Regions from separate parts of the Homo sapiens genome. Here region 2 is linked to region 1. The links are contacts of gene promoters, found by promoter capture Hi-C in blood cells and fetal thymus (Javierre and others, 2016). All regions are on one chromosome and are shown on one strand. Each heading gives the region's core, a stretch centred on a gene start or on the middle of the fragment in contact. The rest is flanking DNA. Distances are from core to core; before and after follow the strand shown.

Evidence for each region. The method cuts DNA at HindIII sites, captures the fragments that hold promoters and counts their contacts. A CHiCAGO score of 5 or more calls a contact.
Region 2: a fragment that was not itself captured here is called in contact with the fragment with the promoter of ANKRD10 in region 1 in 1 of 17 cell types (neutrophils); the score reaches 5.7 in neutrophils.

The regions. Positions count from the first base shown.
Region 1 is chr13:110,911,806-110,918,670 of GRCh38, forward strand. It overlaps ANKRD10 (ankyrin repeat domain 10), which reads right to left and starts at 3,264. Exons shown (of 6, transcript NM_017664.4): 1 at 2,920-3,264. The coding sequence starts at 3,129. RefSeq lists enhancers at 1,876-2,552, 2,276-2,405, 3,904-4,578 and silencers at 2,516-2,885, 3,156-3,815, 3,946-4,105. The HindIII fragment of the contact is 15,206 bases long and covers 1-6,865 here.
Region 2 is chr13:110,215,247-110,222,458 of GRCh38, forward strand. All of the region lies in intron 2 of COL4A1 (collagen type IV alpha 1 chain), which reads right to left. Among named protein-coding and RNA genes, the nearest start is that of COL4A1, 88 kb to the right of the region's middle. The HindIII fragment of the contact is 1,530 bases long and covers 1,260-2,789 here.

The DNA of each region.
Region 1 (6,865 bases), core at 2,014-4,513:
CCCCACAAACTTTGTGTAGCCATAGTAAACTCGTCATAGTCAAAGACTATTTTCTATAGTGTGCACAACTGTGCACTTTTACACAAGCCAGCACTGAATACTCATTGAATAATCAATAGAGGCCCCATTCTCCACATTTTTTTACTCTTTTCAAAACCCTATGGGGGAAAAAAGCCTACAGCATAACTGAGCAATGCACCTAGTGGGTGACTAACATGGCAAGTTAAGACTTTGTGGCCAAGCACCAATACCATGATAGCCTCTGGCTAAAATAATTTAGCGCATTCAACAAATTTACCAAGTGCCTACCATGTGCCAAGCAACTGTTCAACCCACGTTCTCTGATCCTGGACTGCTCATTTTCCCTCACTCCAATCACAATGCAGTTAGGGAACAAGCTATGCCTGACTGCAAGCAATTCTCTTCAAGAGGAGAGACCTCACCTGAAGACAAAACACCTGACACTACCATCTCAACTCAAGGTTTCTTTTTCCATTTCTCTTAGCACTTTCAGGCTTTCAGTAAACACTCCTGTGAGATGAAGAGTACACAGATTCAAAACACCCTCTTCAACCAACTTGGACCTGGGAGTAAAGGCTGATGTCTATTTATTGCCTTTATTAATTCACTGGGTGAAAATGAAAGTATTAATTAGCGATAAGATGAACAGGTTGCAAATCCAATAAAAATAAAACGGATGAAAATCACTTGGCGTACCAAAAATCAGCTATTCAGGGCTCGCTGGCTTTAAACCTGTTACCCTTGGGTTCAATTTAGAAACTTGGATTTGGAATTCTGGAAAGATACTGTTCAATATGGTATAAAAGCTACAACAGAGATTTTAAACAACTCGTTTAGTCCTCTGGCAACAAACGAGTCTTACCAACGGTTAGGGGATCTTGTGCACCACTAGCACATTTCTAAGAACACGAGCCTGAAACCTGTGTAAGAGGGCAGCCGTTAGCAGGGCTGGGGAGAAAGCCTGGACTTCGCAAGCGGTAGCCCTGAGTCCTGGCCTGATTTCTGTCCTAACGGCTTCTTCTCAGAAGGGAATGTTTGGACACTGGACAGGGGCTTTCTAAGGCCCCTTCCGTATCTAAGACCAAAGAGCCCTATGATTCAGACAGCTGGAAACAATGAAGTAACTGCTTCTTGTTACAACATTTGATGACCAAGGTAAAGCTACTACTCAAAGTCCCATGGAAGTAGACTTTTGAAAAGTGATTTCAGTCGGTGTTTTTTAAAAAACTGTGATAAAATACACATTAAAAATTACCATTTTAAAGTAACTATTTTAATCCCCAGAGACAAGTGGAGGCACCACTGGATTAAATTTTCTAAGTGACCATCTGTAATGAGGCTTTAAGCATTCTACAGATCGTTGTTCACTGACTATCACCCAGTATTGTGTCGTTCTCAACCAGGGTAGAAAGGACAGAATCCTAAAGTTTAGTGTAAAAATAAACCACAGCAAGAGACACTCTGGAGGGAGGAAATCCTCAGATTACTGACTGCCTCGGGAAATCTATTTAAGGCTGCACGCAGAAGCGCAGGGAGGAGGCTTTATTACTTTTGTTTGTTAAGAAACTCATTTCCCCTGGGCACCTGTTTTCTCCAGCAGGTACTACGGTTGCACAACTTCAGAGACAGTGCCACAGGAACCTAACAGCCCTTGAGGACTGATTAACTTGCTTGTCCCACCCCGATCGTCAAAACTCCTTTTCATTTCTTTTATTGAAAGAAAAGTGACTTTTCCACTTTAAAAGAATCAGAAACTGCTTTCCAAAAGACACAGCTGCTTTGTGAATGTAGCACCAGGGGCAGCAAGGTAAACCGCAACTTCATCAGCTGGTAACGACATTACCAGGGCCAGGCCTTCTTAAAGTAACTTATTTCACATTACCTCTCACATATTTCTGCAAAACCATTTAACCCCATCTCATCACTTACGAGAAAAACACTATACACATCCCTGAATTTCAGTGAATTAAGAAATATTAATTAAAACCAGTCACTTCTGAAATGCACGGTGAAATCTTATTTAAGATTTCTGAGAGCAAGTACCCCAACGACTTCACAGATGAGGAAACGGTAGCTATCCAACCTTTTAAAACCTTAAAGCAGCACTGTGTTCCCCCAGAATTTTCAGTTTAAGAAAAAAGAGGGGAACGTAAAGCCTCCACGGGAAGAGAATTCTGCTTAATTTAACCACTTCTGCAGTAATTTAGATCCAAGATAAACACAGCCGTCACTAATTTTGCTGAAGCGGGGCCAGCTACAAGCCTTAAAGCAAACCCAGAAGCTGGAGAGCCGGCCTCCATCCCACACAGCTGCCGGGGCCTTCCAGTCCCGCCGGGGCGCTTGCTCCTCGGCTGAGCTCGTCCGCAGCGCGGCCCTCGGCTACTGGCGAGGCTGTGCGGAACCAGAAGGTCGACCGCGCCCGGGCATTCCCCGCGCGCCTCTGACCCCAGCTCGGCTCCCCGGAAGCCGCCTGGGCGACTTCGCGGCCTAATACCCGGCTCTGCGAAATCGCTCGCGCCTCCGGCCCGGCCTGGAGGGCCCCGCACCATCCGCGCGCGCGCGCGCTCGCACAGGATCCGGCCAACAGGCGCCGGGACCCTTGGAGCCCGCCTTGTTAGAAACTTGCTACGCGCGCCGCCGCACATGCGCCCTAGGCCCCTCCGGACGCAGGCGCCACCGACCTCGCTTCCGCCCCGCGCCCCCCGGCTGCCCCGCCGCGACTCCGGGCCGCGAGCGCTGCCGCACAGGCGCCCTAGGCCCCTCGGGGCACAGGCGCCGTCGATCCCGCTTCCGCCCCGCGATCCCGGCACGCCCCACGTCCCCCGCACCTCAGACCCGCTTTCCCCGACTCCCACTGGACAGCCGGGGAAAATGGCGCCTTAAAGCGTTCGCACCCACCTTGCCGAAATGCGCGGCCCAGTGCACGGGCGTCCAGCCATAGAAGGAGTCCTCAGAGGCCAGGTGGGCGTGGGGTGTCTGCTGCAGCAGCGAGCAGAGCGTGGCCAGGTCCCCGTCGCGGCAGGCGCGGTGCAGCGGGAAACGGAGCGAGAGCAGCTCCTCGCTGGAGAAGCCCGCCTCTACGCCCGCGCCCGCTCCCGCCGCCGACATGGTCCGTCACCGGAGAGCGCGGGGCTCGCTGGCCTAGAGGACGCGTCGGGGAGGACTCGAGAAGCCGCCGCCGCAGCACAAAGGAACGAGACTAGCGCCGCGGTCGCGTCCCACAGGCTGCCGAGCGGAGCGCGCACAGAGGGGGCGGGGCGGGGCCTGGAGCGGCCGGGCTGGGGGCGGGGCCTGGCCCAGAGGACGCCTTGTGCAGCCGGGCAGGGGTCGGGGCCTGGAGCCGCGGACCTCTGGAGCCGCCGGGCAGGGGGCGGGGCTTGAGCCGGAGGCCGCCTGGAGCAGCCGGGCGGAGGGCGGGGCTTGGAGCTGCGGACGCCTGGAGCGGCCGGTAGGTGGCGGGGTCTAGCCTAGAGGATGCCTGGAGCAGCCGGGTAGGGAGCGGAGCCTGGACCAGAGGACGCCAGCAGCAGCCGATTAGGAGGCGGGGCATGGGGCTGTCGACGTCTGGAGCAGCCGGGCATTGGGCTTGGGCTAGAGGACGCCTGGGGCGGTGGGCGCCTGGAGTAGCCAGGCAGAGGGCGGGGCCTGGCTTGGGTCCACGCCTGGGGCGGCCGGGGGCGGGGCCTGGCTGGAATTGACGCGTGGAGCTCCGGTGGAGGGGGCGGGGCCTGGCTGGGCCGCTGCCTACAGCGGCTTCCGGGGCTTGGAGGTCACGGGGCTCGGAGGTCACGGGGCTCGGAGGTCACGGGGCTGGCTGTGTGGGGGGCTCAGGGGCGTAGAGTGGCCAAGCAGCGGTCTGAGCGGGTCCCGGGGCCTCCGGCGCGGTGGGTCTCGGCTGCGCCCCGGGTGCGGACCATGATGTTTCCAGCCTGGGAGCCGGTCCGGGCGGGGAATCCCGGCTGCCGGGGGCGCGGGTTGAGGCTCTGCGGGCCCGCGCCCAGAGCGGGTGGGAGTCACGGGTCTCCCGGAGGCCCAGTAGCGCGCGGTGAAGTTGTCCAGTAAAAATTTATGGAGCGCCTACGGGGAGCAGGGATTCTCGTTAAAATCTGGGAATCAGCAAGCCCTAGTTCCTTACAGAGCAGGACAGATTCCTCGGTTTTGTCCGAGGGACGCCTTCTTCGGAACCGAGTGCGGTGGGCTAGGACTATACGTTTGCAAGTTTAAGAGATAAGCGAGAAGACCAGACAGAGCAAACAATAAAAGGCTTTTTGTTGAGAACTGTATAAATGTAAGGGAGTACCAAATCCCCTATTTTGAATGACAGTATCACGGACTTTATTACATATGTAATTTTATTCTGATTATGAAAGCATCAGTAATTTCACTATTGAGGAATAACCACAATGTTTATGAATATTTCCTTTGCTTCTAAATATGCGGTCTTTTTAAATCATGTATTTTATTTCATTTGTATATATAGTTTTTCGCTGTGTAAACTTCCTTTTTGCAAAATTCTACGTCACAAATTGAACAAGGCAATTAGATGTCTAGGGAAGTACTGATGCACGAGAAAGCATATTGCAGCATTGGTTAATAAAACGAAAAAATAGAAACCTAAGATTTAACAAAGGGAAGTTGTTAACTAGTGGTGTAAACACTCAACACAGACATGTCTTCATACAGCAAACATTTGTTGAGTACAATGCTGAATGAAACACATTGAGAAACACTCTATAGTGGGGAAGTAGCAAATATTTCAATTCAGTGAGCAATTGCTAATGAATGGAAAATATGACACATAGAATCTATCTTCTCCCAGGGAGTTTGTAATCTGTTAGTGAAGCAGGAAAGAATAATCAAGCAATACTTTTTTGTTTGGACCAAAAGGGTGAGAATAGACTATAAACTCATTTCAGGTTTTGTTTACTCTAGAACGTAATCATTTTTCTTCTCACATGCCATGTTGATTTTAATCTAATCTCTTTAAAATATATCCCCCTGATTTCCATCTTTCTTAGGAGAGAGGTGTCCCATTTTGCGAAAGGACGTGAGTGTATCTTGTCCTCCATGTAATGAAAGGGAGGGATTACTTGCTAGGCTGCATTCTGGGAATGGTGAAACAGAGATGGTGGTAAGTCAAGGAATTTGTCCAAGGGCAAACTGCATGCCTGTGGCAGAGCTTAGAATAATATCCAGACCTAGGTTCCAACCCACTGTTAGATTTTTTTTAACTTTGGAATTTATTTTGCATAGAGTATTAAGGGCTAGGAAGATAAAATAGGTTATAGTGATAGGGTACTTCGTGTACGTCTTTCCTCACTTCAGATGACTGGGTTTTTTAAAGGATTATTTAGACTATATACATATTTATTTAGCTGTACAGGAGTAGACTGACATATATACGTGGTGATGGATCCCCAAGACAGATCCTGTAACTGTGGCAGGAGGATTGTGGATAGGATGGTGTCTACTGACTATTCCCAATGCCAGTGATCTAATTGGTTGGTCACCCAGATTTTGCTCAACTCTGATAATTGTCAGATGCATTCCAACTAGAACTACTCCATCTTAAATGGGGCTGGGTAAGATGAGGCTGAGACCTATTGGGCTGCATTCCCAGATAGTTAAGGCATTCTAAGTCACAGGATGAGATAGGAGGTCAGCACAAGATACAGGTCATGAAGACCTTGCTGATAAACAGGTTGCAGTAAAGAAGCCAGCTAAAACCCACCAAAACCAAGATGGTGACGAGAGTGACCTCTGGTCATCCTCACTGCTACACTCCCACCAGCGCCATGACAGTTTATAAATGCCATGGCAACATCAGGAAGTTACCCTATGTGGTCTAAAAATGGTAGACATGAATAATCCACCCCTTGTTTAGCATATAATCAAGAAATAACCATAAAAATGGGCAACCAGCAGCCCTCGGGGCTGCTCTGCCTAAGGAGTAGCCATTGTTTTATTCCTTTACTTTCCTAATAAACTTGCTTTCACTTTACTCTGTGGCCTCACCCTCAATTCTTTCTTGAGTGAGATCCAAGAACCCTGCCTCTCCTGTGGTCTGGATTGGGACCCCTTTCCTGTAACAATCATTACCAATCTCAGATTTCCTTTGAGACTCTCATTTTTTAAAAGCTCCAAAGAGAAGAAGAGTAGATTCATAACATCTTTTTCATCTGATGAAGCAACCATACACAAGCCAACTTAGGCATTTGAAGATACAATCCAAATCCATGAAAGAAAACAGGAAAACTCAAAACTTAACATATTAAGATTGCCTTTAGACTGGAATTTTTTTTTTTTTCAAAAAAGGATTGCATTGTATGAGAAATTGTGGAAGTGGGGTAGGGCTCAGTTGTGTGAATGGCACAGTGATTCAGTGTCCATACGTGTGACAGACATTGATGGGCATCTCTTGAGTGTCGTTATTACACCAGGAGCAGTGCGCCCTGAGGGACGTGGGGTTGGAGAGCAAGGTAGGCCCCAGTTGATGTTCCATATTAAGCATGCCATGCTAAGGAGTGGCTTTTTACTTTCAAAAAGTTTGGGAACCAATGAGGGGTTTTGTTGTGCCATTTAAGGGAGGGAGTGATGACTTGGGATGGAGGGGTGGGGGGACCCGGGTCAGACTTGCAGCTTGGCTATGAGGATGGAGATCAGGGAGCCCACTGTGACAACACCTTCAGGACTCAACGTGGGCCTGCAAGCCTTGCTGTTTTCTCCTCGGCCCCTTCTCCATTCCTATCCACATCCACTACGCTGGCAAATCCATCTTTTGAGAGGGCAAATCTGCTTAAAAATTGATGTAGGAACAGTTTCCAAAACTTGTCATTCAGATACC
Region 2 (7,212 bases), core at 775-3,274, 700 kb before region 1:
AGAAATGTCTTTCAAGAGTATTTTTTGGGCTGGGTGCGGTGGCTCGCTCATGCCTGTAATCCCAGCACTTTGGGAGATAGAGGCGGGCAGATCACCAGAGGTCAGGAGTTCGAGACCAGCCTGGCCAACATGGCAAAACTCTTTCTCTACTAAAAAATGCAAAAATTAGTTGGGTGTAGTGGTGCACGCCTGTAATCTCAGTTACTCAGGAGGCTGAGGCTGGAGAGTCACTTGAACCTGGGAGGCAGAGGTTGCAGAGAGCCAAGATCATGCCACTGCACTCTAGCCTGGGAGACAGAGTGAGACTCTGTCTCAAAAAAAAAAAAAAAACAACAACCCATAACCATTGTAAGAAATCAAGAAAACCTATTTACTTTACAGCATGTGGACTTCAGTGCAGCCTTACCATACGAATTGGGTAGATTCAGTAACCATTGTTAGCTGATTTAAAAACATAAGGCAGACAGTTTGGAGATCACAGGCAGGATTACTTAGTGTTCAGTGCCTTTCTCAAAGTTGCATTAGTTGAAAGTAAAAATCAACCGACAAGCTACACACCACATAACATAAACATCCAAAGTCGTCCTTCTTTCCAAACCACTCAGCCAGTCCTGGCACTTAACTGGTGAATTAACTGCCTGCTCCATTTTTACAAACGCAGGAAGGACGTTATGAACCTGGGACTCAGCCGCCACACCTCCATAGAGCTGTGTTTCGTTGAAAGGATATGTCAGGAGTCTAGACACAGTATGTGGATAAATATGGGAGAGATTGTTTCAAACCCTAAAGAATTGAATCAAACAGTAAATGGATTAAAGAACCTCAAGCCCCATACTGTGGCACTGCCCCTTCAGGCCAGCAGCATCCAGGGAGTCGGCCAGAAGCACAGACGTGACTCCACGAGGGCCCTGATCCCAAGGTTTGACAGGGAAGGCTGGCTCCTTCTCCCTGAGGCCTGTGACAGTGAGGAAGGAAAAACATTCCCAGACCAGGACTTGTTCAAATGAAGAGCTCCTTAAATACACCCTGCAGTGATGGCCCCAGGACACAATGGCAGAAAATCCTGCTGTAAGGAGTTACAGTGCACAAGGTCACCAATCTGGGGCACCCAGTTTTCGGATATAGGAAAAGTCTGCTCAAACCAGAATAGGACTGAACTCCAAACAGCGGCTAAAATAAATAAATAAATATGGACTTGTGTAGCCCCAAGTAACCCAACATCAGACAGGAAGGAAATGAGAAAGGCAGGTCCATGTAGAAGCTTTCTAATACATTTGGTGGAGTATTTTTAGTACTTAATTAATATGGGCAGTATCGCCATGAGACCAGCGATGATAAGATTTTATAATTCTCAATTTAACCATGGAATGCACTGAGGACCAGAGCCAGATTAACTGATTTCTACAAGTTTCTCACTGAGTCAGCACTACAGCCAGAAATAGAAATGAGGTCAGCCTCCACCATAGTCCCTGTTTTTTCTGGGTCACTAGAGCAAGCCGGTTCCCAGCAGAACATCAAACAATTCACCAACTTCATGTCAGCCCAAGGTACCGACCCTTCTATGTCCATTTCACAGATAGGGAAATTAAGATTCCGATGCTTAACTGACTTGTCGTACGTCACTGGGTGACCCCTCGTGCTGCTGGGAACAGAACACAGAAATCCAAATTCCCAGACCTTGCTTTTACCGCAAGAACACATTCTTTCCCAAATGTCACCAGAAAGTTTAAGCAATCTGTGTATCCCCAGAGCTTTGAAATGAAGGAGCTAAGAAGGAAGTGACTCCTCCATGGACATGGTTCTTGCCATTCCCCACATATTTTTTTAACGTTCTTAATCTTTTGTCCAGATAAAAGTGCACACGAATAATCTAATACTCTGTACCCTGTCCAAGGTTATTATGGGAACCAGAGCAGAGCAAACGGACAGAATAAGCACTTAAACAGCTATACAGTTAGCTGGCGACCAGCATGCAGTATGGGGCCAAATTATTCCTCCAAGATTTTAGCACATTTCCACCAGGATTGTAAGAAGAGCAAAGAGCTGGACATGTTGTGCAAAGGTTATTGGAGCTAGCAGGGTCCAAGCCAGACTTTGCAGCTGCAACTGGCAATGCTACTAACGTGACCACAGTGACCCCCCACTTCCACTGGAGCTCAAGGCAGAATGTGCACAGTTAGAGTCAGGGAGCAACAGGACCCTCGATCATCTGTTTCCCATGGTGTGCTCAAGGCAAGGTCCAAAAATCCATGGCGGCCACAGACTTCATGTCAGGCAAAAATGAAAACCACAACCATTGTCTGTCACAGCAAAGACTATTTAAAATGGAAGAAAGAAACGAGAAACTTGAAAAATACTACACAGAAAGTTTTCGTGCAGCTGAACCTTGTGCTCTCATTCCTGAACATCAGTGCAATGCAGAGCACTGATCAAAAAAGGAAAATCATACGCCAAAGCCGGAGATGACTACTGCTGTGTCCCCAAATGATGAAATTCAGAATTTGTGGAGGGAGAACAAAGTGCCATTGTCTATAAAGATGAAAGAATACAACATGGAGAATAATCTTAGCACCAAAATTAGGCATTGTAAATTAGGCATGAAATAGGGTTTCATGCATGGAGCAACTTAAAATTCTTGCTTAATGCATTATCTAAAGCAAGCATATACTTTTTAAAAAATCCTTAAAATGCGTGGATAGAAAGTCATTTTATAATACCCAATTATTTCCCTTCCTCTTCCAATGCTTGTAGAAACAAGTTCATGATTCAGGAAAGCAAATACTCTAATAAGCTTCCGTCATAGCTAAGTCAGAAATTCAAATACAAATCAAATACCCAGGACAGCTGAAGTTAAAATAGCATGAAGCTTCTAAATGTGGGGGGAAAATATAATTACCAACAACAAAAACTGATGTTAACACAAAATATACCTAGAATAAGCAGTCATCAAAATTCTTACTGTCAAAGGCCTGTTTCAGTGGCTGACATGGAATCCATATCTTTAAATCAAAATTTTAATGGATTTTTCCAATCTGAAATATTAGGATCACGGATCTTCACAATGGACTGAAGCACACACAGAGATGCTGCCAGCTCTCGGGGGCTTCCTCTACGCACGGAATGAGTACGGGTACCGGGTTTGGTACTGAGCACTGAGTGTACTGGGTATGGCAGCCTCCATGTGCTGGGTGCATCCAAGGGAAACAAGCAATGCTTATCAGGGAAACTGCAATTCCTTCTCCACCTCAACCCTGTAACTTCTTCACAGGCAATGAAATTGTTTTATTCATTCATGGTGTTTGAATTCAATAAAATGTCATGGGATGCTGAACTAGCCAATTGCATAACATGACGCTCAGCATGAGGTAGGATTCCACATACGAATCCTAAAAACTTTAAGAGGTAGTGAAAGGTTACTGGGCAGGACAGGACCCCCGTCGCCTTTGCAGTCCAAGCATTCTAGGCACCATTCCAGACTGGCTGGAGTCCGCAGCAGTGGCTGAGAGGTGCAGGGCAAGCTGCGTTCGGGACCACGATGGCCCTGCTGCTGCTTTCTGTCATCTAGCGCCTCGAGATTTCCATTTACGAGCAGACTGCAAATCATTCAGGGAATGAAAGCCCTCACATTTGAAGCCAGAGCTCACCAAGTATCCAGTGAAAGGGAAATGATGTCAAGGATGGGTCACAGTCAGTGGGTGACTGCAGAACTCTTTCCGAAATTCCACAAGGCCAACTCCTTGAGCCCAACCACCATCAGAAGAGACATCAGAAGAGACATCTGCAGGACCATTTCCTGAATGCCGCCGCTGGGAAAGGGGTGGGAAAGCTGCGGTGGGTGCCGCGGGGTCATGGAAAACTCTGTGGCGAGGCCCCGCCGGGAGCTCCCTCCACACCATGAGGCTTGACGTCAGGGCAGGAATACTGCCACCACAGTTTGAGGGGGGACAGATGCAAGGAGATCCCCTAGAGGGTCTGCTTTGCCTAAGAGGAAGGCGTGAGTGCTCACTCTCCTTTGCTCTATGAGACATACAACTGAACTCTTAAAAGGATGTATATGTGTTCACTAGAAGTATGTGAATGAAATTTAACAGTGTGGATTGTTGCACTTAGCAGCTACATTTATCATTACTATTATTTCTTGCATTTAAATATTTAACATTAAAGCAGCAAAGATTAAACCAATCATGCATAAAAAGCGTGGCTGCAAATCTGTATCTTCTTCCCGAAATTCTCATTTTCTCCCTCCAGCCCAGACGTCTAGCTTGAGACAGTGAATATCAGGAAATGTGTGCAGTGGCCCTCCATCAACTATGTGGGTATACGCAAGAGCTTGAGCAGCACATACAGACGCACCTCAGCTTATGATGGGGTATGTCCCAATAAGCCCATTGTAAGTTGAAAATATATATATATATGTATATATATATATATGTGTATATATATGTATATATATGTATATACATATGTGTATATATATGTGTGTATATATATGTATATACATATGTGTATATATGCGTATATATGTATATATATGCGTATATATGTGTATATATGTATATATGTGTATATATGTATATATATGTATGTATGTATATATGTGTATATATATGTATATATGTGTGTGTATATATGTATATATATGTGTGTATATATATGTATATATATGTGTGTATATATATGTATGTATATGTGTGTGTATATATACACATACATACATATACATATATATATATATATATTTGAGGCAGGGTCTCACTCTGTCACTGAGGCTGGATTGCAGTGTTACTATCTTGGCTCACTGCAACCTCAGCCTCCGCAGTAGCTGGGATTATAGTAGTGTGCCACCATGCGCCGCTAATTTTTGTATTTTTAGTAGAGACGGGGTTTCGCCATGTTGGCCAGGCTGGTCTTGAACTCCTAACCTCATGTGATTTGTCCGCCTTGTCCTCCTAAAGTGCTGGAATTACAGGCGTGAGCTACTGCACCCAGCCCAATAGAAAATATTTTTAACTCAAAAACACATTTAATACACCTAACCTACCCAACATCATAGCTTAGCCTAGCCATCCTTAAACATGCTCAGAAAACTTAAACACTGGCCTACGTTAGGCAAAATGGTCTAACACAAAGCCTGTTTTATAATAAAGTGTTTAATATCTTGTGTAATTTATCAAATTCTGTATCAAAAGTGAAAACCAGAACGGCTTGTGGCTCCTGACTGGCATTGCAAGAGTTGCCTATCGCACAATGCTAGCCCAGGAAAAGATCAAAATTCAAAGTTTTTATCTTTTGAATTTTGATCTTTCAAAATCCATGACTTTCAGATATCATGAGAGCTGTTCTATTTCTAGGAGACTTCGGGACTTGTCCTGCCTCTTCTAAAGCACGTGGGGTTGTTTGGGCAAGTTCCTCATTTCATGGGCCTCCACCGTCCTCCTTCTGACTATCATTAGCTTGGTTCTGACTACTCCCAAGGCTGCCGATGATGGAGATGAGCAAATCTGTGTGAAGAATGGGAGAGAACTCAGTGCTGGAGTCTCCTGGCCGAAAGAACAGTGGCTGGGGTCTGAGGGGTGGGAGCTGGGCTGGATAAACTAGAAGTGAAAATGCCTTCCTCCGTATGGCCAAGCCTGGACTACAACTTTTATACTGGACTTCTGGCCCCAGGATTCTTGAGTGGAAAATCCCAAGCCCTCACGATAAGGTCCATGTGATGAAGAAGGTCCACCCTGTGCTCAGCGAAAGCCTGCCTGCAGCTATAGCATTTAATGCAGAATTGTCTCCAGGTGTCCATGTTCAAGGAGAGATTTCTATTGGACAAATCCTGATGTTGAAACATTATCTGAGCCCATGATGAATTCTGGCACAATTCTAGGCTCAAGTATTCTAATATGAATTTTAACATTCACTATGAAGTTGACTGACAGAGCTGAACACTCAAGTCATATGTAATCCAAAGCTAGAAGGCGATGGTTACAAAGGAGATGCACAGTGAATATTTCTGATAGATCCACATTTACAAAGAAATAAAACCATAGATATTTTCTGATCCATGAAAATCCACTTTGCACATCAGCTTAAAAGAAAAAAATGAATTAAAAAGAGTCCTTCAGAAAATACTTTCTAAAGAACTATCATTCAACACAAGAATAACTCAAGGGGGCCCTCAGTATGGTCTTCTTATAAACAATTTAAAAGTTCCCCGAAAGCCATCCAAAAGCAAACAAACCATCTGACGTCCCCGATCCAGTAAAAATGTTCTAGGAGAACTGAGTGCTGATAAATTACTGGCAGCCAAAAAAAATCTTAAAAATTTCCAAAGGTCTTTAAATCTTACCAAAGTTCCAGACATTTGTCCATGATGAAAGTGGAGACTCACTCATGGAAGCGCACAGTAAAGCTGTGAGCAGCAGCAAAGGTCTCCAGAGGCAACTATTATCTTCAAGAGTTTTTTCTTATCTTTTTTCAGAAAAAACAGTCCAAAATGCTCTCATTAATTCTTACTCCAAAGCAGTACTCCGTTTCAAATATTGTTAAACAGAACCATTTTAAGTCAGTCCCCCAGAGCAGTCAGATTTCCACGTTGGAAAGGAAGAAAAATATGATGATGATCTTTTTCCAAAGGCTTGTGAACCTGCTCAGTCAGATTCCACGTGTGCCTGCGCTCAGGCAGCGCGTCTGTCATCAACAGCTTAATTCCGTTTTCGCATCAAACCACACCAGCAGACAGTGCGTTCTCTGGAAACACTTGTATTTTCCTGGCTCCGGGCTCCATCAACAACACATTCAAATGCCCATGTGAAGGGCCAAGCTCCTGGTCGGGGCGTCCGTAGACACCCACCCTTCATCCACCTCCAGGCACCTGCGACCCACACAGCAGCACCCCAGGGCCCTGGCACCCCTCAGCACATTCGAGAGCGCTGCCTTCATGTGAAACAGGCACATTCACACCCTCCCCGGCGGGCCCTGGCACCTCAGACACACCCATGGGATCTCAGCCAAGCACCCCCTTGTTGAAGAAGTACTCAGACACTGAATGATCTGGAGAAAACCCAAACTCTGGCAGACAGTGGATCCAGCCCGTGACAGGCCCGGGCGGAGGAACCAACGGCCTCAATCAGGGCTTGGGTGAGGAGTCTCCGTGGGCTGCAGCTGCTCGCCACTAGAGGGAGCTCTGGGACTATACATTTTCCCCCAAATAAACTAAACCTC